7 separate regions of the Homo sapiens genome follow, and all the other regions are linked to region 5. The links are contacts of gene promoters, found by promoter capture Hi-C in blood cells and fetal thymus (Javierre and others, 2016). All regions are on one chromosome and are shown on one strand. The core of a region is centred on a gene start or on the middle of the fragment in contact, and the rest is flanking DNA. Distances in the headings are between cores, read along the strand shown.

Region 1 (3,116 bases), core at 343-2,842, 320 kb after region 5:
GGAGACTCCATCTCAAAAAAAAAAATAAAATTAGCTCGGAGTGGTGTGGCCTGTGCCTTTGAGTAGTCCCAACTACTAGGGAGGCCGAAATGGGAGAGTCTCTTGAGGCCAGGAGGTTGAGGCTGCAGTGAGCTATGATGGTGCACCACTGCACTCCAGCCTGGGCAACAGAGTGAGACCCTGTGTCTAAATAAAATGAAATAATAGAAGAGAGGGTAAGAGACAAAGAGATTACTGGGGGAAAAGTCTAACCCGTCTTTATTTGGAGTTCAGGAACGAGGGAAATAATAGGTAAAACTAATACTTGAAGAGATAATAGCTGATAAATTTAATAAATGGACGACAAACCTGAAGCCATTGATTCAAGAAGCTCAACAAACCTCAAGTAAGATTTTTTTTTTTTTAAACGGAGTCTCCCTCTATCGCCCAGGCTGGGGTGCAGTGGCGCCATCTCAGCTCACTGCAACCTCCGCCTCCCGGATTCAAGAGATTCTCCTGCCTCAGCCTCCTGAGTAACTGGAATTACAGGCGCCCGCCAGCACGCCGGCTAATTTTTGTATTTTTAGTAGAGACGGAGTTTCACCATGTTGGCCAGGCTGATCTCGAACTCCTGACCTCGGGTGATCCACCCGTCTCGGCCTCCCACAGTGCTGGGTGGCCACAAGCCACCGCACTCGGTCCGCTTTTTGTTTGCTTGTTTTTTAAAAATTAATAATATTTATTTTAATCTGGATGGTGGTTACGTGGCCAGAATACGTTTAGACTTAAGATGTTTACGTTCTGCTGTAGTAAATTAAATATCGAAAAAGTACTTATGGAAGGGAGGTAGGTGAGGGATAAAAGTCTACAAGTTGGGTTCAGTGTATACTGCTCGGGTGATGAGTGCACCAAAATCTCACAAATCACCACTAAAGAATTTATGTAACCAAGCTGGGCGCTGTGGCTCACGCCGGTAATCCCAGCACTTTCGGAAGCTGAGGCGGGTGGATCACCTGTTTCCATGGACATGGAAAACCATGTTTTCCACACTAATTCAATCAATATACTCCTCTCCTATCTAAAACCTGTTTCTCCTGCTTCGAGTTTGTAGACGTGCAGTGTTCATAGTTGCCTAAACTCCCTTTTCCCCATCAACTTCAACTGCTAGTGGCAAAAATAGCTGATATTGGTTGCATTTTTGAGGTAGGAAAATTGGCAAGATATTTTCCTTCACTAAAGAAACGTAGATTACGTATGCCGTACAGGGCAATGAAAAAACTCCGATAGCAGAGGATGGTTTCGATCCATCGACCTCTGGGTTATGGGCCCAGCACGCTTCCGCTGCGCCACTCTGCTATCTAGAACTAAAATTTCTCATGATTGTTATAGAACACTACGTAGTCGTTGTCCTGACTTCTTTAGTGCCACCTAATGTCTGATCAAAAATTCGTCATTACTATAGAACCAGTTCTTATTGGCTAGTTCCTGACACAGTAGGCGTTTTTTATTGGTTCATAAGCCCGGTTTGACAAAGTAAGCCAATAGGCATAAGCGATGGGGTAAGGCGGGAGCCAATCGCACCGGGTTTTATTGGGACACGCCGGCAAGACGCCTCTTCAGTTGTCTGCTACTCAGAGGAAGGGGCGGTTGGTGCGGCCTCCATTGTTCGTGTTTTAAGGCGCCATGAGGTAAGTGGGTCGAAGCGGTCGAAAGGTTTCAGGTATTCGACGGAAAACTTTGTGAACGTGGGCCGAAAGAAGTCGGAGTATCAGAAAGGGCCATGTATCCGGGGGCTGGCCAAAAACCTGAGAACTCCTGGTCTAGGATAGTGGGAGAGATGGAGGCCGGTAGAGGCGGGGAAACTTGGGCCCGGGATGGGGTTCGGGCCCAGGAGTGGGGAGGGGGGTTCGACACCTTTGTCTCTGAAGGGTTGCGATGAGGGGGTGTCCTCAAGCCCCTGGAGGAGCTCCCCACCTTTCCCCCGCCCCCGTCATCCGGGCTGAGAATGCTGGAGCGAGCCGCATTCATCCTCAGTGCGAAGGCCTTGACATTAGGACACGCCCGATAAATGTGTACCTTAGTGAAGAAATGAGCAATCTTTAGCCTCCGAAGTATTAGGATTCGTGTGGCCCAGGATTATGGGTTATTAAGTGTAGGGCTCACTGAGCCCCATCATTACTTGATGGGGGTTGGATTAACTTAGAGGAGGTTATGGGGGTGTAACTGGGCACCATTTGGAATGGGGACAAGTGTAAGTGTGAGTGGGGTCTCTTGCCTACCGTTGGGAGGTTCCGAGGGATGAAAGTAGCCAACCTAAGATGATATGGCCGGTGGGTATTCCTTCAATGAGGTCAAAATAAAATCTGCATTTCTAGGGGTGACAGAGGCCGTGGTCGTGGTGGGCGCTTTGGTTCCAGAGGAGGCCCAGGAGGAGGGTGAGTACCAGCTTTTAGCATCTCTGCACTTGGTTGTTAGTTTCTGCTTGTCATCTAAATAGGAGTTTTAGAGTAGACTAATGTCACTTGGTTTTGCGAGAGCCAACTGTGGTCTTTTCCTGCACTCCTGTTAAATGAATTTGGCCCCACTATGCTAAGAATGATTCTTTCCCTCCCCGGAGACTTTGTCACTCATTCTGAGGACTGACATGTTTTCAAAATTGTTGGCGTGTTATTTACATCTCGCTTGATTCCTACCTAGGGAATAATTTGGCTGTTTTTCATGTTTTAGGTTCAGGCCCTTTGTACCACATATCCCATTTGACTTCTATTTGGTGAGTACCTTGGGTTAATGATACACATTTTCTGGTCACTGTTGAAATGGAGCCCAGTATCTCCCAGTTAATGAAGTTAGATGGTGGTTGAAGAGGGCAGACACAGTGCCTCACGCCTGTAATCTCAGCACTTTGGGAGGCCGAGGCAGATGGATTACCTGAAGGTCAGGAGTTTGAGACTAGCCTGGCCAATATGGTGAAACCCCGTCTCTACTAAAAATAAAAAAGTTGGCTGGGCATGTGTCTAATCCCAGCTACTTGGGAGGCTGAAGCAGGAGAATTGCTTGAACCCGGGACGCGGAGGTTGCAGTGAACCAAGATGGCACCACTACAAAAAAAAAAAGATGGTTGAAATAGGGAGGGAAAG
Region 2 (2,832 bases), core at 125-2,624, 450 kb after region 5:
GAGTACTCGGTGTTCCTGACCATGCTGTGCATGGCCTACAACGACTTCTTTCTAGAGGACAACAAGTGACCAGGGCTGCCCTCCACCCTCACCCTCCACCCTTTGCTGCTGACCTCGGCTGCTCCTCTCACAGACCCTCTTTGGCCCCCTGCCCTCCTCTCCCTCCCAGATGGACCCTTCCATGGGAGGAAATAAAGTTTCCATCGCAGGTGCTGGGAGTCTGGTTTTGAAGCTGTCTTGTCTACCTTGGCCTGGGGAGAGGGGAGCACAGGAAGGGTCTCTCCTTGAGTGGGTTGAGACAGCTTCTGCCTCTGGGGGTTAGGGTCCTGGGCTCCCACTGCATTCCTCTCCTTCTTTGGTGTGGACGTCATTGGTTTTGTCATGGCTTAGTTTTGCCTGCCTGGAAAATGGGGAAGTTAGGCCAGGCGGGAACTCTGCAAGGATGCAGAGGAAGTTAAGAGGGAAAGTTGCTTTGAGAGGAGGACACTGGGAGGGGTTGGGAGTGGCTCCTGAGGGCGGTGATAGGCAGGCAGGCCTGACTTGTCCACAGCTCACCGGAGGCCACCTTGGCAGCACCTGTAGGAAGGGCATGTCTGGCCTCCACACCAGCCCCCTCCCTCTTCACCATTTCCCCTTCAATAGCACCACTCTCATCATCTATGGGGGACAGTGCTTTCTTCTCTCCCTGCCTCCTCCATCAAAATCTTTTCTCAGGGGAGGGTCTGAAAAGGCCTTCACTCCCCCGTAAATAACGAATGGTGCTTACAGGGCTGGGCTCCCACGTGCATGCACATTAACACCAAAGGTGCTGTAGTGAATGGAATTTGGGGCACTGAGGGGAAGGAGTGGAGGTGTTGGTAGGAACTTGTTGCTGGTGGGGGATGGGCGCCGTAGATATCCTTTACACCACTGGCTACTCCCCCTATCTCCTCTGGGGTGACCCTGAGTATCCTCTGTGGGACACCGGCATCCTGTGAGGCGCCCTCCTTGCCCACATTGACGCTGCGCTGGCTCGAGGGTCACATTCACGGTCTGGCAGAGGAAGCAGGGGTGACCGCCGCAGTCCTCCTCCTGCTCCCCTTGCCGAGTCACGTGTCACGAAGAGCAAACTGAGCAAACTGAGCTGCGCAGATGAGGGGAGACTCGTCACCAGGCGTGCAGTGGGCACTGCTGGGCTCCCCCATCCCGTCCTAACCCGGAACAGCCCCGGGCAGGAGGCGTGGAAAGTCGAGGGGGTAAACCGCGAATGTGCGTTGTGTAAGCCACGGCGCAGGGTGGGGCGCGGGCGGGACTTGGGCGGGCGGGGTGGGCTTGGCCGAGCTGGCCTCCGGGGCACCGACCGCTATAAGGCCAGTCGGACTGCGACACAGCCCATCCCCTCGACCGCTCGCGTCGCATTTGGCCGCCTCCCTACCGGTGAGTTCTCTCCAGGAGCCCTGGGTACTTTCCAGGGCCAGCTGCCCTCACGCTGGGGGTCCAGCCATCCCCTGCCCAGTTCAGCCGCTGGATCCAGACTGGGGCCATCTGTGGCGCTCCCCCGCTGGAGGGATAGTCAGGAGCAGCAGTGCTGTGCCAGGCAGGCCTTGGGCTAAGGGATCGCAATGGGGTGTGCTCTTTTGGGGTGCGGAAGGGAGTGCCCTGGGTGTGTCATTGCCACCATGTGTGGCCCTGTGAAGCTGTGTTTAAGCTGCCTTTGCAGCCTCCATTCCCCTCCCCTGCCCAGCCATACTCCTCAACTTCTGGATCCCCTGAAGGACAGTTCTCAGCTGTGCCCAAAGCTACTGTTCCTATATGCTTCTTAGAATCCTTAAGCCACCTCTCTTGCCTTGGCCCTAGTGTGCTCTCTCCTTCCCCTTCAAGCCCTGGGCTGTCTCCTGATGCCATTGTGTGTGGCCTGAGACTGGGTGGTTCCAAAGGAGGCGGGGCTAGTGCAGGCAGCATTATTGGGGTGTGTGGGTGAGAAGTCCTTGCTCCCATGGCACTGACTAGGCCCTCTGCTGCCAGCTCCAAGCCCAGCCCTCAGCCATGGCATGCCCCCTGGATCAGGCCATTGGCCTCCTCGTGGCCATCTTCCACAAGTACTCCGGCAGGGAGGGTGACAAGCACACCCTGAGCAAGAAGGAGCTGAAGGAGCTGATCCAGAAGGAGCTCACCATTGGCTCGGTGAGTGGCCTCCTCCCCAGGACCCCTTTTCCCACCCTTGTCCTTTGGAAGCAGGATTAGGGGAGAGAGAGGTGCCAGGTGCATCTGACTCACATTTACCCACATTCTGAGGCCCTGGTCCACATGTAGACCCTGAGCTGTAGACCCACTCTCCCAGCGGGTAGGGGATGCTTCCAGCCGGATATCCATCTCTCCAAATGAGGACCAGTAACTGAGAAGTAGCTGAGGAGAAGCAATGCCAAAGTGACATGGGTCCTTGGTGATGAGGGAGCACAGAGCCACTTGCAGAGAGGATTGCCTGGGAGGGGGAAGGGGAAGAATCCAGGGTTGTCATCACCACTGAGTATGGATTTCACATTCTAACACATTAGAAGCTGCAGGATGCTGAAATTGCAAGGCTGATGGAAGACTTGGACCGGAACAAGGACCAGGAGGTGAACTTCCAGGAGTATGTCACCTTCCTGGGGGCCTTGGCTTTGATCTACAATGAAGCCCTCAAGGGCTGAAAATAAATAGGGAAGATGGAGACACCCTCTGGGGGTCCTCTCTGAGTCAAATCCAGTGGTGGGTAATTGTACAATAAATTTTTTTTGGTCAAATTTACCCTTGCGTCCTGGCTTCCGAATGATTTCTGTTCCTCCTTGGCTTAGTGGGACACCAGCCATTGGA
Region 3 (3,116 bases), core at 208-2,707, 490 kb after region 5:
TAAAAATTTTAAGAATTCTGGAATGGTGACTTAGAATTCTTGATGGTAAACCAATAAAACTGGTTAAACATACTGTTAGATCTAAATAATTGAAATATAATAATAAAATTTACTGTAAGCTTAAAAAATAATTATTTCAAGAAAAAATAAAATGAAAATACAATTAATTAGCAATAATCAGGCTGGGCCCTGTGGCTCACACCTGTAATCCCAGAACTTTGGGAGGCCGAGGTGGTAGGATCACCTGAGGTCAGGAGTTCGAGACCAGTCTGGCCAACATGGTGAAACCGCGTCTCTACTAAAATACAAAAATCAGCTGGGTGTGGTGGTGGGCACCTGTAATTCCAGCTACTCGGGAGGCGGAGGCAGGAGAATCGCTTGAACCTGGGAGGTGGAGGTTGCAGTGAGCCGATATTGTGCCACTGCATTTCAGCCTGGGCGACAGAGCGAGACTCCCTCTCAAAAAAGAAAAAAGAATTAGCAAGAATCAGAGTTTAAGTCACAAGCCATATTGCTGGACACCAGTAAGTAGCAAGCAGATTGAGAAAGAGTAAAAGTGTATTAATTTCCTCATTTTACATGAGGAGAATAAAAGGATATACATTTATTCTTAATTTTCAAGATTAGAATAATATTTGTAAAAATGTTTTTGAAAATCTTTAAAGTACATGCAGGGAAAATGGAGAGAAAAATATGTTTTCCAAATAACCAGAGCATCTGATAAAACAAAACAGGACACATAAAATGAAAGCAGAAAGCAAAGGAAAGGGTGAGGAAGTATTAAAAAGAAAAACAGGCTGGGTGTAGTGGCTCACACCTGTAATCCCAGCACTTTGGGAGGCCAAGGCGGGAGGGTCGCTTGAGGCCAGGAGTTCAAGACCAGCCTGGCCAACCAGACGGGAGACCCCGTCTGTACAAAAAATAAAAAATTAGCTGGGTGTGCTGGTGCGTGCCTATAGTTCCAGCTACTCAGGAGGCTGAAGCGGGAGGATCTCTTGGGCCTATGAGTCCTGGGCTGCAGTGCACTATGCCAATTAATTGGGTGTCCACGCTAAGTTTGACATCAATATGGTGACCTCCTGGGAGCAGGGGACAACCAGGTTGCCTAAGGAGGGTGAACTGGCCCAGGTCAGAAATGCAGCAGGTCAAAACTCCTGTGCTGATCAGTATTGGGATCACTCCTGTGAATAGCTACTGCACTCTAGCCTGGGCAATAGAGCAAGACCTGGTCTCTTAAAAAAAAGGAAAAAAAGAGAAAAGAAAATTAACTATGCTCTGTTAACTGATATACAGGTAAGTTATATGCTGTTACACATTAAATGATGCAAAATTGTATGTACAGTGTAATTCCAATTTTGTGTAAAAATGGTAACAATTTCTCTAAACTTATATGACAGCATTTCTCATATTGCTTTCTGTAGAACACTACTTTCTATGAGATGTTTGTGAATAATTGTTCCAGAAAAAGGGATCTGGTAAAACAAGGCTAGGAAAATCTAAGCAAAACCATGTAAAACCATTTCATTTTGGCAAGTCTTCTCAGTGCCTTATTGGATATTTTTTCTTTTTGGCCACCCAGCTCCTGGACCCTCATCTTCCATGTGTGGACTTTCTCGTCTCATCAGGCAGTGTCCATCTCCTACAGCAGAAGCGGATGATCCCAGTTCCTTACCTTTTCTCTTCCCTGGTGGCTTCACCAGTCGGATAGATACACCTGTCTGGGAGTTGGAGCTGGGCTGGTTACCCCCGGAAGCAGAGGTGCTGGGGAACCCTTCCTGGCAGGGGCCAGCCACATTCCTCAGTGCCCATGCCATTCAGTGTTCAGAGTGACTATGCCAAGGTCCTCACCAGGCTGTTTTGGCGGTGTGATTTTGGCATTTCTCTTTGTGTAACTTTCCTTTGTTCTTGCCCACCTTCTAAACCCTAGTTCTCTAGTCTTCTTGAATCTAGAATTATTTCAGTTTTTTGAGAATACTAGAATTTAGTGTTATTTAAGTAAAATTTTGTTCTCCTCAAATCAGTTTGAGGCAGTTTCTGCTGCTCGCATTTCTGAATATTGACTGACGCATTATTATACTAATGTGTACTGTGAATTTCTAAAAGGGAGAAATTTTCCAAAGTTATTTGTCTGTACTTTTTCCCTTTTCTTTTCTGAAAACTTATGAATCTCCTGTGAAATTAGTATGGTGCGAAACGTAAACTTATGGCTATAAAAAAGTCTGGGAGGAAATACAACAAATGAAGCATAAAGGATATTTTATTCCAAATAATGGGTTGAGGACTTGTGTTTGTGTCTCCCTTCAGAGATCCCATTAAAGGGCGACTATAAACCCATCACAGCAGAGATGATATAAGGTGGATCAGACAGTGGGTAGGAGATTTAAACATTTCCCCAAGCTGGAAAGGCAAAGGAGGTGTGCTGATGGATAAAACAGAGTGGAGGAAGCCTCAGAACAGAATATGATGCCTGCAAAGGACTGGGGAGGAGGTGGAGCTGACCTACACTTTGGAGCCCCAGAGAGACTTAGGGATGAGTTGACCATGTAGGGTGGAAATGAGAAGGGACAGGCAATGCTAGGGTTAACTGAAAGTCTGTCCAGGCACCAGCTAGGGCAGTCAAACCCTTTTCCTCTCTTTCTCATCTGCTTGCAGAGCAATAGCTGTCTAGGTCCTGCTCTTCTTTAAAAAAATTAACACATACTCTGGCTCGTTTACCTTGGCCCCCTAGAATAAAGCCTTTTCAGTTCCAGCATAAACAGCTGGTTCCTGTCAATTCACCCTCAAGTGAAGCTTGCCAGGCCATAAATGGTGTCTTTTTTTTTTTTTTTAAGACGGAATCTCACTGTCACCCAGGCTAGAGTGCAGTGGTGTGATCCTAGCCCACTGTAGCCTCAAGCTCCTGGGTTCAAACAATCCTCCTGTCTTAGCTTCCCAAGTAGTTGGGACTACAGACATGTGCTAGCACACCTGGCCAATTAAAAAAAATATTTTGTAGAGATGGGGTCTTGCTATGTTGCCCAGGCTGGTCTTGAACTCCCAGCCTCAAGCAATCCTGCTGCCTTGGCCTCCCAAAATGCTGGAATTACAGATTTGAGCCACTGTGACTGTCCCATAAG
Region 4 (2,823 bases), core at 267-2,766, 430 kb after region 5:
TTTTTAGCTGACCACATTGACATCTTAGAAGAAAAAAAATGGGTCTTAATAATGAAGAAAGAGGGGATGGATAGTGGAAGAGTAATGCAGAGTGTTTTCCTGAATTTTTTTTTTTTTTCTGAGATGGAGTCTCATTCTGTCGCCCAGGCTGGAGTGCAGTGGTGCGATCTCGGCGCACTGCAAGCTCTGCCTCCAGGGTTCACGCCATTCTCCTGCCTCAGCCTCCCGAGTAGCTGGGACTACAGGCGCCCGCCACCATGCCCGGCTAATTTTTTTGTATTTTTAGTAGAGACGGGGCTTCACCGTGTTAGCCAGGATGGTCTCGATCTCCTGACCTCGTGATCCGCCCGCCTCGGCCTCCCAAAGTGCTAGGATTACAGGCGTGAGCCCCCATGCCTGGCCTGAACTGTTTTTTTACTTACTTGGGAAATCGATCTTTGAGAACCACTTCCAGAGTAGCTCAGATAGGGTCCCCAGAGACAGAAAAGGCCAAGTGAGAAGGCGCTGGGACAATTGCTTGTTCTCACTTATGATTCTGCCTTGACTGCACATCTGGGGCTGGCGAGGCAAGGCGGAGCAGGCCTTCAATGATACATGGTCTCTTTTCATAGCAATAAAAAGAGAGAAGCCCACCTTCCTAATATCCTGTAGGAAAGGGAGCCAGTAACTATAGGTCAGGGAATCATGATGATGGTAATTAACATTTCTGTAGCAGTTCTCAGAGTTCCTTTCATGCACACTGTAATTTCAGCCTCATGGTAACCCCGAGAGGAGCTATCATTAGGCCGTTTTTACAGATGAGGAAACTGAGAGGGAGCAGCATCTGTCATTTGTGGAGCACTCCCTCCAGCTAGGCACTCTGCTGGTCTATTCAAGTGTCATCTCATTTAATCCTCGGGGCAACTGGGTGAGAGCAGAGCTATGCTATTAGTTTCTGCACGTCACAGACAAGGAAACAGAGGCTGGGAGAGGTTAAATAAGGAGTAGCGTCAGGACTTGACCCATGTCTTAAGAAAGGTCCTCATCCCTGTGGACACTAGGGTGGCAGTCCGGGCCTTCCTCCCCTTCCCACAGCCATCTCCAAAGCCTGGGGCTTTGTGTAAGGTGAAAGGGACCTGGATGAGCAGCATCCAGACTCTCAGTGTCCCTATCCTGAGTCACTGGGGGAAGCAGGCCCACTTGCTCCTGGTGGATTAGTGCAGTCTGGTTTCTTTTGGGCCTTAGGCTCACAACAATTCCTGGCTTCTCTTGGCTCAGGTTCTGGGGCTGTTTTGGCTGGTGGAGACTAGCCTCAGCTGGCTGCCCTTGGAGCTGGGCAGGTTCTGAAAGAGGCTGATTTCCTTTCCTTCTGGGCATTTGACAAACTAACAAACACCACTTTCCCAGATGGTTCCGGCAATCTTCCCTTATCCCCTTTCCTCTCCCCAAATCTCTGTGCAGAGGCACAGAGGAGGAGAGTCTAGAAATAGCTCTGTTCAAAAGTTTGTTGGGCCAGTTGTCTCCCACTTCCTCCTAGAGCTGCTGCTGGAGGAGAGCCTCAGGAACACATACCTCACCCTGCATCCTGCCCTACTGTCACTTTGGCATTTGCTGTTTCGCATTAATCCCTGGCAGCCTATTAACCCTCCAGGAAAGGACAGAATGAAGGCAAAGCTGGGCTCTGAGACAAGGGACTGGCTGAAATAGGGCCCCCATGCCCTTGTCTTTAGGTCACTTGATCTCTCCACTGACTCACTGCTCTCATCTATGAATTGGTCACAATCAGTCAATGACTTGGCAGTCAAAAGAAGTAGTAGGTCTAAGTAATAGGTCCACAGGCCTCTTTGATCTCAGTTCAGATCCTCTTCCCATCTCCCCAGGCCCAGTCCCCAATTCTGTAGCAAAGGCCTTCCTGGCTCTACACCAGTCCCAGTCATCAAATACCCCTTCCTACACCTTCCCTATATTTGGCTCAGATGATGAGAAAGGAAGCTAATCATTTTGACAAGGTTCGTTGGTCCCATGGGGCTATGGGATTGGGGTGGGTTCACCCTGTCTCTGGGGCCCAGGCCCTTTTGGCACAAGCATGTGGGATATCCAGATGCTCAGGACAATTTATCTTGTTCTTCCCCGAGGTTCAGAACCAGACACTGACCTTCAGGGAGGCGGTGCAGTTTCCAAGGGCGTATGGTGATAGTGGTGATATTGGGGCGACAGAGCCAGGGAGAATGGGTGCAGGGGAGAGAGAGTCAGTGCTATAATAAGTCCTGCCAGATCAGATAGTGTCAGCTCTCACCCTTCATGCACCCACACGCGTTGCCCCTACGGGGAGAGAGCTCCTTGCCCTCCAAATATGGTGCATTTCTCAGTGGTCAGCTCCACATCTGCAGTGGGGGCGGGGGAGGCGGCTCTGGAAGGTGAGCAGCAAGGGTCCTGGGCTCAGCCCGAGCATGAACAATTGAGTGTGTGGACACTGGACGGGGTGTGGGAGGAGGACGGTCCCTCTCCAGGCCTTGGAGGGGCGGTTCATGTGGGATGCATTCGGAACCACTGCAGAAAGGGAGATTCAGGGGAGATGCTGGGGAAGAACTTCCAGCAGGGCAGAGAGTCCAATCATCCCAAGAAGAGTTTGTGAAAGCAAGGGAAGGGAAGTTACAGCTCTCCCCTCCACCTGCATGGAGGAGGCAGGACCAAGTGAACTGTTGGGGAGAGGCTGGTTCTTTCCCTCCCCTCCCGCCCTCCCTGAAGCCCCACTGAGGTGACTCAGTGCATGTTTGTTGAATTGGACTCAGAGGCCTCTGCCCTGACATTGTCCACAGTGACAGCGAGTGATAGAAAGCGCTT
Region 5 (2,852 bases), core at 123-2,622:
ACGTTGGCCTCCCAAAGTGCTGGGATTACAAGTGTGAGCCACCGCAACAGGTCTTAGATAATATTTTCTTTCTTTCGTGTTTCGTATTTTTTTCCACCCCCAGCACACATATAGCAAGAATAATTTTTTTCTAAAGGCAGAGATAAACTTGTTTCTCTTTTACTCTCTTTCTTTCTTTCTTTTTTTTTTTTTTTTGAGACGGAGTCTGGCTCTGTCGCCCAAGCTGGAGTGCAGTGGCGCAATCTCGGCTCACTGCAAGCTCTGCCTCCCGGGTTCACGCCATTCTCCTGCCTCAGCCTCCCAAGTGGCTAGGACTACAGTCGCCTGCCACCACGCCCGGCTAATTTTGTGTGTGTGTGTGTATTTTTAGTAGAGATGGGGTTTCACCATGTTAGCCAGGATGGTCTCGATCTCCTGACCTCGTGATCCGCCCGCCTCGGCCTCCCAAAGTGCTGGGATTACAGGCGTGAGCCACCGCGCCCGGCAAACTTGTTTCTTTATACCCGTGCTGTTCATATTTCAGCTTCCTGGTTACCAAGGCTACACATTCATGGCCTATTGAGTGAGATTTCAGGAGTACTGCACCTTAAGTGGGCCATATTAAAAGATTCACGTAAAGAATGACATTTTTAGTTCAAATCTCTGTTTTCCTAAGCTATTTGGTCAGAGAAATCACACATGGGTCCCCATAAGAGAGATCGTTCCAACTGAAGCCCCAGGATGTGTCTAGGTAGGCTGTGTGTGTTGGGGTGGTGGGGCCGATTCTGTATAACTAATTTACGTTTTCACCCTGTTCCACCAGGGGGCAGACTGACTCAACAAATAACCTACTTCTGCGCATCCCGCTTTTTTCAAAGTGAATTGGGACCCATAGAACTAAGGGCTTGGACAACTAACAGTAAAATTCTAGGACTGCCTTTTACTCAGCCCCAGAAACCGATGATAACTCATCTTCTAGCTTCGTTGAATAGCATCTCCAAAACTCAGCCCCATTTTTTTTTTTCAATTTCTAGTGCTCTCCCTACCTTCACCCTTATTCCCAAAACTCTTGGTTCTCTTCCCCTAATCCCTCTAAAATTTCTCTTCTAAAATTTCTGGTCGTCGTGGTTAAACCTCTACTTCCCTTCACCCCAGCCTCTCTGGCCTCAGAATGGAAGAGTAAGGTCCTAAGAGGGGAGCTACAATTACCGAAAGGCTGTGGAAAATAGCGAGAGAGACAGGCCGGCCTAAGCTAGGAAGGGAAAACCGAGAGAACAGAGGCCGGGCTGGCAGCCTTGGCCTGCTCAAAAGGGTGGGCGGGCAGGGGGTGGAGCCCGGAGGGGTGCCGCCTCTCCTCTTTCCCGGAGCCTGGGCGGAGAGGGAGGAAAACTTCTTCCTGGCCTGGGCTCCGTGCCGCTCTGTTTGCCAACCGTCCAGTCCCGCCTACCAGTGCCGGGCGCTCCCCACCCCTCCCCCGGCTCCCCCGGTGTCCGCCATGGCCAAAGCCTACGACCACCTCTTCAAGTTGCTGCTGATCGGGGACTCGGGGGTGGGCAAGACTTGTCTGATCATTCGCTTTGCAGAGGACAACTTCAACAACACTTACATCTCCACCATCGGTGAGCCCGCTGGCCATGTCCCAGACCCCGACTCTCCTGTGACCTCCTTCTCCGGCTCCCGGATTACTAGTGACCCCACTTTTCAGTCCCCTTAGAGTAAGGCTCCTAAATTCTAGTCCCTCAACCCCTGGCTCTGACCCTTCCCCCGTGCATGTCTCTGTATAGTAACCAAACCTCTCACCTCTCTGAGGCCTTCAGGTAACTCTTCAACTGCTGCCAGCTCCTCATTTTCTTGGTACCATCGCCTTAGTCTCCCCAAATCCACAAGAACTCTTCTCTATTTTTCTCTGTTCCCCTCTTCCCCTACCCCCACCACCTAGAACTCTCTCGATCCTATCTCCATGTTTCCTGTATCCCTGTCCGCCACATCTTTTTCTCCCGATCCGATGCTAGCCTCTTTCTGTCTTGCTGAGCTTCAAACTCTCCCACTGTGTCCCCACCTCACCATCTACTTCCCAGGTTCCCTGCCCCAGTCTCCCTGCACCTCAGCTGAACAAGGGTTTGGGAAGGGTGGAACAAGGTGGCTGGGTGTGCTGGAGGGTGGCCCAAGGACTGTGATCATGAATATGCAGCCAGCTTGGTGAGGAACGTGGAAATGAGGGGACTTTTGGGGTCTCTGAGTCAGCCTGGTGACTCATCCTCCTCCCAGGGGCCCCCAGCAGGCTTGGGGGAGGTGCCCAAGTTTCTACTAAGAAGAACATTGTCTCCCCTCCTCCCTTCTCTTCTTTCTTCATCTCCTCTGGCTTGGGAAATAGACAGGAAGAGTCTCACGACAATTCTGGTTACAAAGGAAAAGGAAAAATGCCCCTCTTTCCTAATTGTCTCAAAAGTAATCCTGTTTAGCCTCAGACTTTCCTAGTGCCAAGTTTGGCCCACTAGTTAATTCACATAGACTGGCTTCAGCTACTTTTTTCCTTACTCTCTACTAGGAGGGTAGGTGGGATACCAAGAGTAGAGGGCTCTAAGAAAACAGAGAAGAGGAATGTGAAAGTAATATCTGGGGGGAGACAGAGACTGAATTCAGAGAGTTGTCAGCTGGTATAACTGAATGGACCCAAGAGGCAGCCTAAGGATTTTAAGCCTCCATGCAGAATTTTCGTCACCTTTTCCCTCCCAAAATCCATAAAATGTACGTAAAAATAGTATTCTTGCTATACAAATACAGCTTTGGGAAAATTCTCCTAGCTTGGCATTTCCAACAAGATTGTTCCCCAAGTGCCTCCCCTGCAGAATTTCTGGTGCCAGCACTGCTCC
Region 6 (3,049 bases), core at 387-2,886, 380 kb after region 5:
GGCAAGAAGGCCGGGGGAATCACCATGTTTGGGTGGACCCAGTTTCTAAGGGCTTGCATTTGCATATCAAAGGTTGCCAACCTGGCTCTAAGAGCCGGGGCTTTACAAGAAACTTTTCTGGAGATGCTTCAAAAAAATGAAAACTCCAGCCTGACCAACATGTAGAAACCCCGTCTCTACTAAAAATACAAAATTAGCCGGGCGTGGTGGCGCATGCCTGTAATCCCAGCTACTCGGGAGGCTGAGGCCAGAGAATCGCTTGAACCCAGGAGGCGGAGGTTGTGGTGAGCCAAGATCGCACCATTGCACTCCAGCCTGGGCGACAAGAGCAAAACTCCGTCTCAAAAAAAAAGAAAAAGAAACAAAACAAAAAACTTCCCAAGGACCCAAGGACCCATTTTCCTCTCTATCTGCCTAAAATAATTTCTTAATAACTCCTACAACATTCCCCCCTGTGGAGATGCCACACTAACTGCTGTTAGGGAGTTTTGGGCGACGACTCCTTCTGGCTACTTCTTGTTGCAAAAGGGCGTCGAATGGGGAAGAGCAGCTAGGGCTCCTCCTGGGGTCAATCTAAGGGTCCTCAGAAGAATGATGTGTCTATGTGTGGTTCTGTTTACAGCACCATTTGGAGTTTGATTGCTTCTAGATGAGAAGAAACAATTTGAGTTATAGTATTGTGTATACAGGGTCCAAATATCAATACAAGACACATAAGCAAGAGAGGGCTTAATAAAGGGGTTAACCAATTCCATAAAGAAGACTGGAATTTATTAAAGAGGCATTGTAGCCACTCGGGGATCAATAATTTTGATTTGATTTTTAAGTACTTGTAGATTTTCTTTTAACTAGAGGCATTAATCCGAAAGCAGCATGTTTCATTGAAAACTGCATCACTAAACCCAATAAAAAGTCCTAGCAGATTCAGTGGTAGTAAAACTTTTATGCTTCCTTTTCATTAGTAGCTATTATCCCTGCTATAAGGATAATGATTAAGCAAAATATGACAGCAATGGAAACTCTCTGTTTAATATTTCAGTTAGAAGGTGCTACCATGTATAATCCTATTGCAAATAATAGAGTGAGTATAGCTATTTCCATAAGTGTGGTGTGGTAGATAATTTCCATCTAAACTTTTACCTGTCAAGATATAGAATTCCCCTTTGGGGGTCTATGAAGTTCCTTGGTTTTATTTTCCTAAACGAAGAAACCTCTGGGTTATGGGCACCCTACTCACTTTTATTACCTGGTAGAATTTGCAGAATAATTGCCCAGAACTAATATATTGATTCAGATTTTATATTACCCATCCCTTAATTTTTCTTCCAAGCTGCAGGAGATCACTGCTTGATTCACAGGAATAAGCAGGGTTAGTCTAAAATGTAGGCGAAAAGCTTGAAAACAAAAACAAAAAACAAAAAAATGTATGATAAGCTTTGGAGCACAATTTTTCTCTCTAGTCCTCGTTCTTGGTAAAAACAAGTTATGAATAAACTGTAGTCTTATACTTGCCCTGATTATTTGCATAAAGTGCAGCAAGAATGGTTATTTGTACACAGGCCTTTTGATTGGCTTTGATGAAACTCTGTTTCACAAGGAATTTCAGATAAGACTATTAAAGCCTAAAGTTTGTATTTGAGGATACAAACCTCAAATACCTGTTAGTTGGGTGATCCTCTCCTCTTGAGGTCCCAAGATAAACTCGGAGCTCCCAGACGTGTTAAAAAATGACATTCTTTACTGACTACAGATTAGGAACCCTGTCCAGAGACTGTGTAGACAAGGTATGAGGCCAGTTCTCCCAAAGCGGCTTTTATTGGCTCTGCTTGTCAAGCTTGATTCAGATAGTTTCCAAATTCTAGAGGAACCAGGCAGAGAAATAAACATGCTCCAAATTTTGTTCATAGGAGTACACCTTACTCAATTATTAAAGGCCACAAATAGCTTAAAATAAGTTTCCTTGACTCAGTCTGATGAACGAATTTCCTTTCCTGGCCAACGCACTAAAATGATACGGCTCTGATGAGTGGAGGAACACCAGGGTTCTTGGTGCTCATGCCAGTTTAGATAAAACGACATGGACACACGTGGAGTGGTTTTAAGGAGCGGAGAGTTTAATAGGCAAGAGGGACAAGAAGGAAGGGAGAAGGAAGAAGCTCCCCTATACAGAGACAGAGGGAGGGGGGCTCCAAAGCCAAGAGAGGGAACCCCCATGACCCTTAGTCTTGAGCCATGAGTGGCACTGAGGCTCTGAATTCTCATTAGTAGACTATCCCGATACAGACAGAAGTTGTGGGATGGAGAAGTAGAGGTGCAAGGAAGAAGGAGTGTGGGAGGCCAGGTGGAATGGAAGCCATGACTTGCAGCTGCTGGAGGGGACATTGCCAGTTCCTTGGTTTCTCCCCTGCTCTTGCACTGAGGGAGATCCCAGTAGGAAACCCACCCTGCAGAACTGGGCATCAGCAGTTTTTAAATGGGAACAGCTTAAGACTTTCCAAAAAGATGCACAGGCACAATAGTTTTATTGGCATCCACTTACAGATCCTCAGCCTTCTAAAATTGATCTGCCCTGGAACAGGGTGGCACTCAAGGTGTTGTACTGTTCCTCCTTTCCCACCCCCAGTAGCTGGGATTACAGGCTGGCGCCACCACACTCAGCTAATTTTTGTATTTTTAGTAGAGAAGGGGTTTCACTATGTTGGCCAGGCTGGTCTCAAACTCCTGGCCTCAAGAGATCCACCTGCCTCAGCCTCCCAAAGTGCTGGGATTACAGGCATGAGCTGCCGTGCCCGGCCTACTATGCTACCTTGACTGAATGATAAAGAATGAGTTAACATGTCTTGTTGGTGGCGGGGGGAGGGGGGTGGTTCTATCTATCTATCCATCCATCCATCTATGTATCTATCAATCTATCATCTATTTATCTACTTACCTATCTACCTATCTGCTATCTATCTATCATCTATCTATCTATCTATCTATCTATCTATCTATCTATCTATCGCTATCTGTCAACTGGTAAAAAAGACACAAATTTACCTCTTTTTTT
Region 7 (3,161 bases), core at 216-2,715, 410 kb after region 5:
GTTCTCAATGAGCTGTTGGGAACACCTCCCAGACGGGGTGGCGGCCGGGGAGAGGGACTCCTCACTTCCCAGAAGGGGCGGCCGGGCAGAGGCGCCCCCCACCTCCCGGACGGGACGGCTGGCCGGCCGGGGGCTGACCCCCCACCTCCCTCCCAGACGGGGCGGCTTGACGGGCGGGGGCTGCCCCCTCACCTCCTGGACGGGACGGCTGCCGGGCGGAGACGCTCCTCACTTCCCAGACGGGGCGGCTGCCGGGTGGAGGGGCTCCTCACTTCTCAGACGGGGCGGCTGCTGGGCGGAGGGGCTCCTCACTTCTCAGATAGGGTGGCCGGGCAGAGACGCTCCTCACCTCCCAGACGGGGTCGCGGCCGGGCAGAGGTGCTCCTCACATCCCAAACGGGGCGGTGGGGCAGTGGCGCTCCCCACATCTCAGATGATGGGCGGCCGGGCAGAGACGCTCCTCACTTCCTAGACGGGATGGCGGCCGGGAAGAGGCGCTCCTCACTTCCCAGACTGGGCAGCCAGGCAGAGGGGCTCCTCACGTCCCAGATGATGAGCAGCCAGGCAGAGACGCTCCTCACTTCCCAGACAGGGTGGCGGCCGGGCAGAGGCTGCAATCTCGGCACTTTGGGAGGCCAAGGCAGGCGGCTGGGAGGTGGAGGTTGTAGCGAGCCGAGATCATGCCACTGCACTCCAGCCTGGGCAACATTGAGCACTGAGTGAATGAGACTCCATCTGCAATCCCAGCACCTTGGGAGGCCGAGGCTGGCAGATCACTTCTGGTTAGGAGCTGGAGACCAGCCCGGCCAACACAGCGAAACCCCGTCTCCACCAAAAAAATACGAAAACCAGTCAGGCGTGGCGGCGCGCGCCTGCAATCGCAGGCACTGGGCAGGTTGAGGCAGGAGAATCAGGCAGGGAGGTTGCAGTGAGCAGAGATGGCGGCAGTACAGTCCAGCTTCGGCTGGGCATCAGAGGGAGACTGTGGAAAGGGGAGAGGGAGAGGGAGGGGGAGGGGGAGGGGGAGAGCCAGTTTCTTATTTTGAAATGGGGGGAAGCATTGAACTGGATCAAGCAAGCTGTCATCAAAGTCCATTACTTTTGAAGCTAGACTTAGATGTTTTACCAATTATAATGAGAAAAATATGGGCATTTCCAAACTAGGAGAAATAATGTAGCAAATTAACAGATTATTCTCAATTTTAAGGTTTTCTTTACTATTTTTCTTAAACTAACACCTGATACTTTCAGATGACAAAAAGTGGGCTCAAAGGATAAATAAATATTGACAGGAAAACCAGGAGTAGATCATGATCCCTGTATTTTAGTGGATGTGGGGTTTGGTCATGGTTCTATGTTGCTGATACATCAGATGGCCCCATCTTGGCCATGACACTGGCTCTAAGTATATGTTAGTTTCTTTTTCTTTTCTTTTCTTTTTTTTTTTTTTCCGAGACAGAGTCTTGCTCTGTCATCCAGGCTGGAGTGCAGTGGCATGATCTCTGCTCACTGCAACCTCCGTCTCCTGGGTTCAAGTGATTCTTCTGCCTCAGCCTCCTGAGTAGCTGGGATTACAGGCGTGTGCTACCATGCCGGCTAATTTTTGTATTTTTAGTAGAGTTGGGGTTTCACCATGTTGGCCAGACTAGTCTCAAACTCCTGACCTTGTGATCCACCCGCCTCGGCCTCCCAAAGTGCTGGGATTACAGGCGTGAGCCACCACGCCCGGCCCACAGTTTCTTCTTCTATTGATACATGTAATAACACTCACTGAGTCCTCCCTATACTTTACATACATACAAATGTGTTATCTCATTTGATAGGTGAAGTGGGCAATAGTATTCCCATGTTACAGAAGAGGAAACTGATGCTCAGGAAAAGGTTAAGTAACGTTTGTAAGGTTACATGGTGAGTGTAGTAACTGTGGTAACTTGCTTCCTATTTTTAGTAAGAGACCCTTGACCACACTGGCAAATCATAGCACTCCGTCTCCCTGGCAACAGAAATTGGCCCATGGCTAAGTATATGAGACAAGCAGGGCCAATCAGCGCTCTTCTCTGGATTAATATATAGATAATGGGTTTACAAAGCTGGAGCAGTCTGTGGCCACATTCCTCATTATTTGGAGAGGCTCTGCTATGCTATACTAAGGGTGATGCCCACATGCAAAAAGACACAAACAGCATGAGAGAAGAATGGATGGATGGATGGTGTTGAGTTCCTCATTCTGGTCCCCATGGCTGTGGTTTATTGATCCTGTGAATTATCACAGTGACCTTAATGCGATGTAACACAATACACCACATTTTTACTTTGGTGAGCTTGAATTAAACTTCTGTCTCTTTTAGCTGAAAGATCTTGATTGACAGAATTAGAATATGGTGGAGTCAAGATTCAAATCCAGAATCCAAAGTCTTAATTCCTTTGCAATAACCATTTCCTAGTATTACATATTGATCTCCAAAAATGTCTTTCTTTAAACCACTTCCTCATGAGCAACACACTATAATATTACAAATCACCACCCACTCTCCTGAGTCACTTTTCTTTTTCTGAAGCTGCCCTTAGTCCCTTTCTAAGATTTAGAAAGTAACTTGGATTTATCAGAACACAGAATGCATCTCTCAAGTTGGGTGTTTCTGGGAAGACTGTGAATCACCCTGATTTATGTTGATCCCTGTTAGCACCAGTTTCAGTTTTACCAAGTGACATTGTTCCTTCTTGGTCCTCTATGCTGGCAAATAGTGGAGCCTGGCTTCAGACTCAAGCCTGCCTTATACCCAGGCCTATGCCCTTGCCAGGACAGCAGCGGCCTCTAGCTGTGGGAAACCATGAGGAGCTGGCAGGCCAGGGTGGAAATATCCTGTGTTCTCGAGCCAGGTGTCAGGCGTGAGAACTCAGGAACTATGATACACTGACATTATTATCATTATTATTTTGTTTAGCTCACTCTGTTGACCAGGCTGGTCTCACACTTGGCCTCAAGCAATTCTCCTGCTTCAGCTTTCTAGTGCTGGGATTACAGGCATGCGCCACCACACCTGGCTAATTTTGTATTTTTAATAGAGATGGGGTTTCTCCATATTGGTCAGGCTGGTCTCGAACTCCCAACCTCAGGTGATCCACCTACCTTGGCCTCCCAAAATGCTGGGATTACAGGT

Evidence for each region. Contacts are between HindIII fragments. The CHiCAGO score rates a contact against its expected background, and 5 or more counts as called.
Region 1: a contact is called between the fragment with the promoter of ILF2 here and the fragment with the promoter of RAB13 in region 5, in 17 of 17 cell types (M2 macrophages, naive B cells, M0 macrophages and 14 more). The highest score is 22.5, in M2 macrophages.
Region 2: the fragment with the promoter of S100A6 here is called in contact with the fragment with the promoter of RAB13 in region 5 in 1 of 17 cell types (neutrophils); the score reaches 6.4 in neutrophils.
Region 3: a fragment that was not itself captured here is called in contact with the fragment with the promoter of RAB13 in region 5 in 1 of 17 cell types (total B cells); the score reaches 5.3 in total B cells.
Region 4: a fragment that was not itself captured here is called in contact with the fragment with the promoter of RAB13 in region 5 in 4 of 17 cell types (naive B cells, M0 macrophages, total B cells and 1 more); the score reaches 6.8 in naive B cells.
Region 6: a fragment that was not itself captured here is called in contact with the fragment with the promoter of RAB13 in region 5 in 2 of 17 cell types (total B cells and naive B cells); the score reaches 6.3 in total B cells.
Region 7: a contact is called between a fragment that was not itself captured here and the fragment with the promoter of RAB13 in region 5, in 10 of 17 cell types (total B cells, naive B cells, M0 macrophages and 7 more). The highest score is 13.4, in total B cells.

What each region holds. Positions count from the first base shown.
Region 1 is chr1:153,669,469-153,672,584 of GRCh38, reverse strand. It overlaps ILF2 (interleukin enhancer binding factor 2), which reads left to right and starts at 1,592. Exons shown (of 14, transcript NM_004515.4): 1 at 1,592-1,667; 2 at 2,355-2,414; 3 at 2,707-2,749. The coding sequence starts at 1,663. TRX-CAT1-1 (tRNA-iMet (anticodon CAT) 1-1) reads right to left here and starts at 1,335; the gene lies at 1,264-1,335. RefSeq lists enhancers at 323-372, 383-462, 1,013-1,152 and a silencer at 1,193-1,572. The HindIII fragment of the contact is 12,664 bases long and covers 1-3,116 here.
Region 2 is chr1:153,534,533-153,537,364 of GRCh38, reverse strand. It overlaps S100A6 (S100 calcium binding protein A6), which reads left to right and starts at 1,374. Exons shown (of 3, transcript NM_014624.4): 1 at 1,374-1,416; 2 at 2,005-2,163; 3 at 2,535-2,766. The coding sequence starts at 2,026. The coding sequence ends at 2,669. It overlaps S100A5 (S100 calcium binding protein A5), which reads left to right. Exons shown (of 3, transcript NM_001394232.1): 3 at 1-218. The coding sequence ends at 69. It overlaps LOC124904423 (a long non-coding RNA gene), which reads right to left. Exons shown (of 2, transcript XR_007066630.1): 2 at 1-2,461. RefSeq lists an enhancer at 749-1,384. The HindIII fragment of the contact is 28,060 bases long and covers 1-2,832 here.
Region 3 is chr1:153,498,581-153,501,696 of GRCh38, reverse strand. It overlaps the pseudogene RN7SL44P. Among named protein-coding and RNA genes, the nearest start is that of S100A6, 36 kb to the left of the region's middle. The HindIII fragment of the contact is 2,671 bases long and covers 122-2,792 here.
Region 4 is chr1:153,552,819-153,555,641 of GRCh38, reverse strand. No RefSeq gene overlaps it. Among named protein-coding and RNA genes, the nearest start is that of S100A3, 5.0 kb to the right of the region's middle. The HindIII fragment of the contact is 6,930 bases long and covers 1-2,823 here.
Region 5 is chr1:153,984,859-153,987,710 of GRCh38, reverse strand. RAB13 (RAB13, member RAS oncogene family) reads left to right here and starts at 1,372. Exons shown (of 8, transcript NM_002870.5): 1 at 1,372-1,598. The coding sequence starts at 1,475. RefSeq lists a silencer at 1,288-1,457 and enhancers at 1,269-1,770, 2,084-2,313. The HindIII fragment of the contact is 17,219 bases long and covers 1-2,852 here.
Region 6 is chr1:153,602,876-153,605,924 of GRCh38, reverse strand. No RefSeq gene overlaps it. Among named protein-coding and RNA genes, the nearest start is that of S100A16, 8.7 kb to the left of the region's middle. RefSeq lists an enhancer at 1-895. The HindIII fragment of the contact is 400 bases long and covers 1,437-1,836 here.
Region 7 is chr1:153,572,328-153,575,488 of GRCh38, reverse strand. No RefSeq gene overlaps it. Among named protein-coding and RNA genes, the nearest start is that of S100A2, 8.1 kb to the right of the region's middle. RefSeq lists enhancers at 1-220, 221-1,001, 2,616-2,705. The HindIII fragment of the contact is 6,913 bases long and covers 1-3,161 here.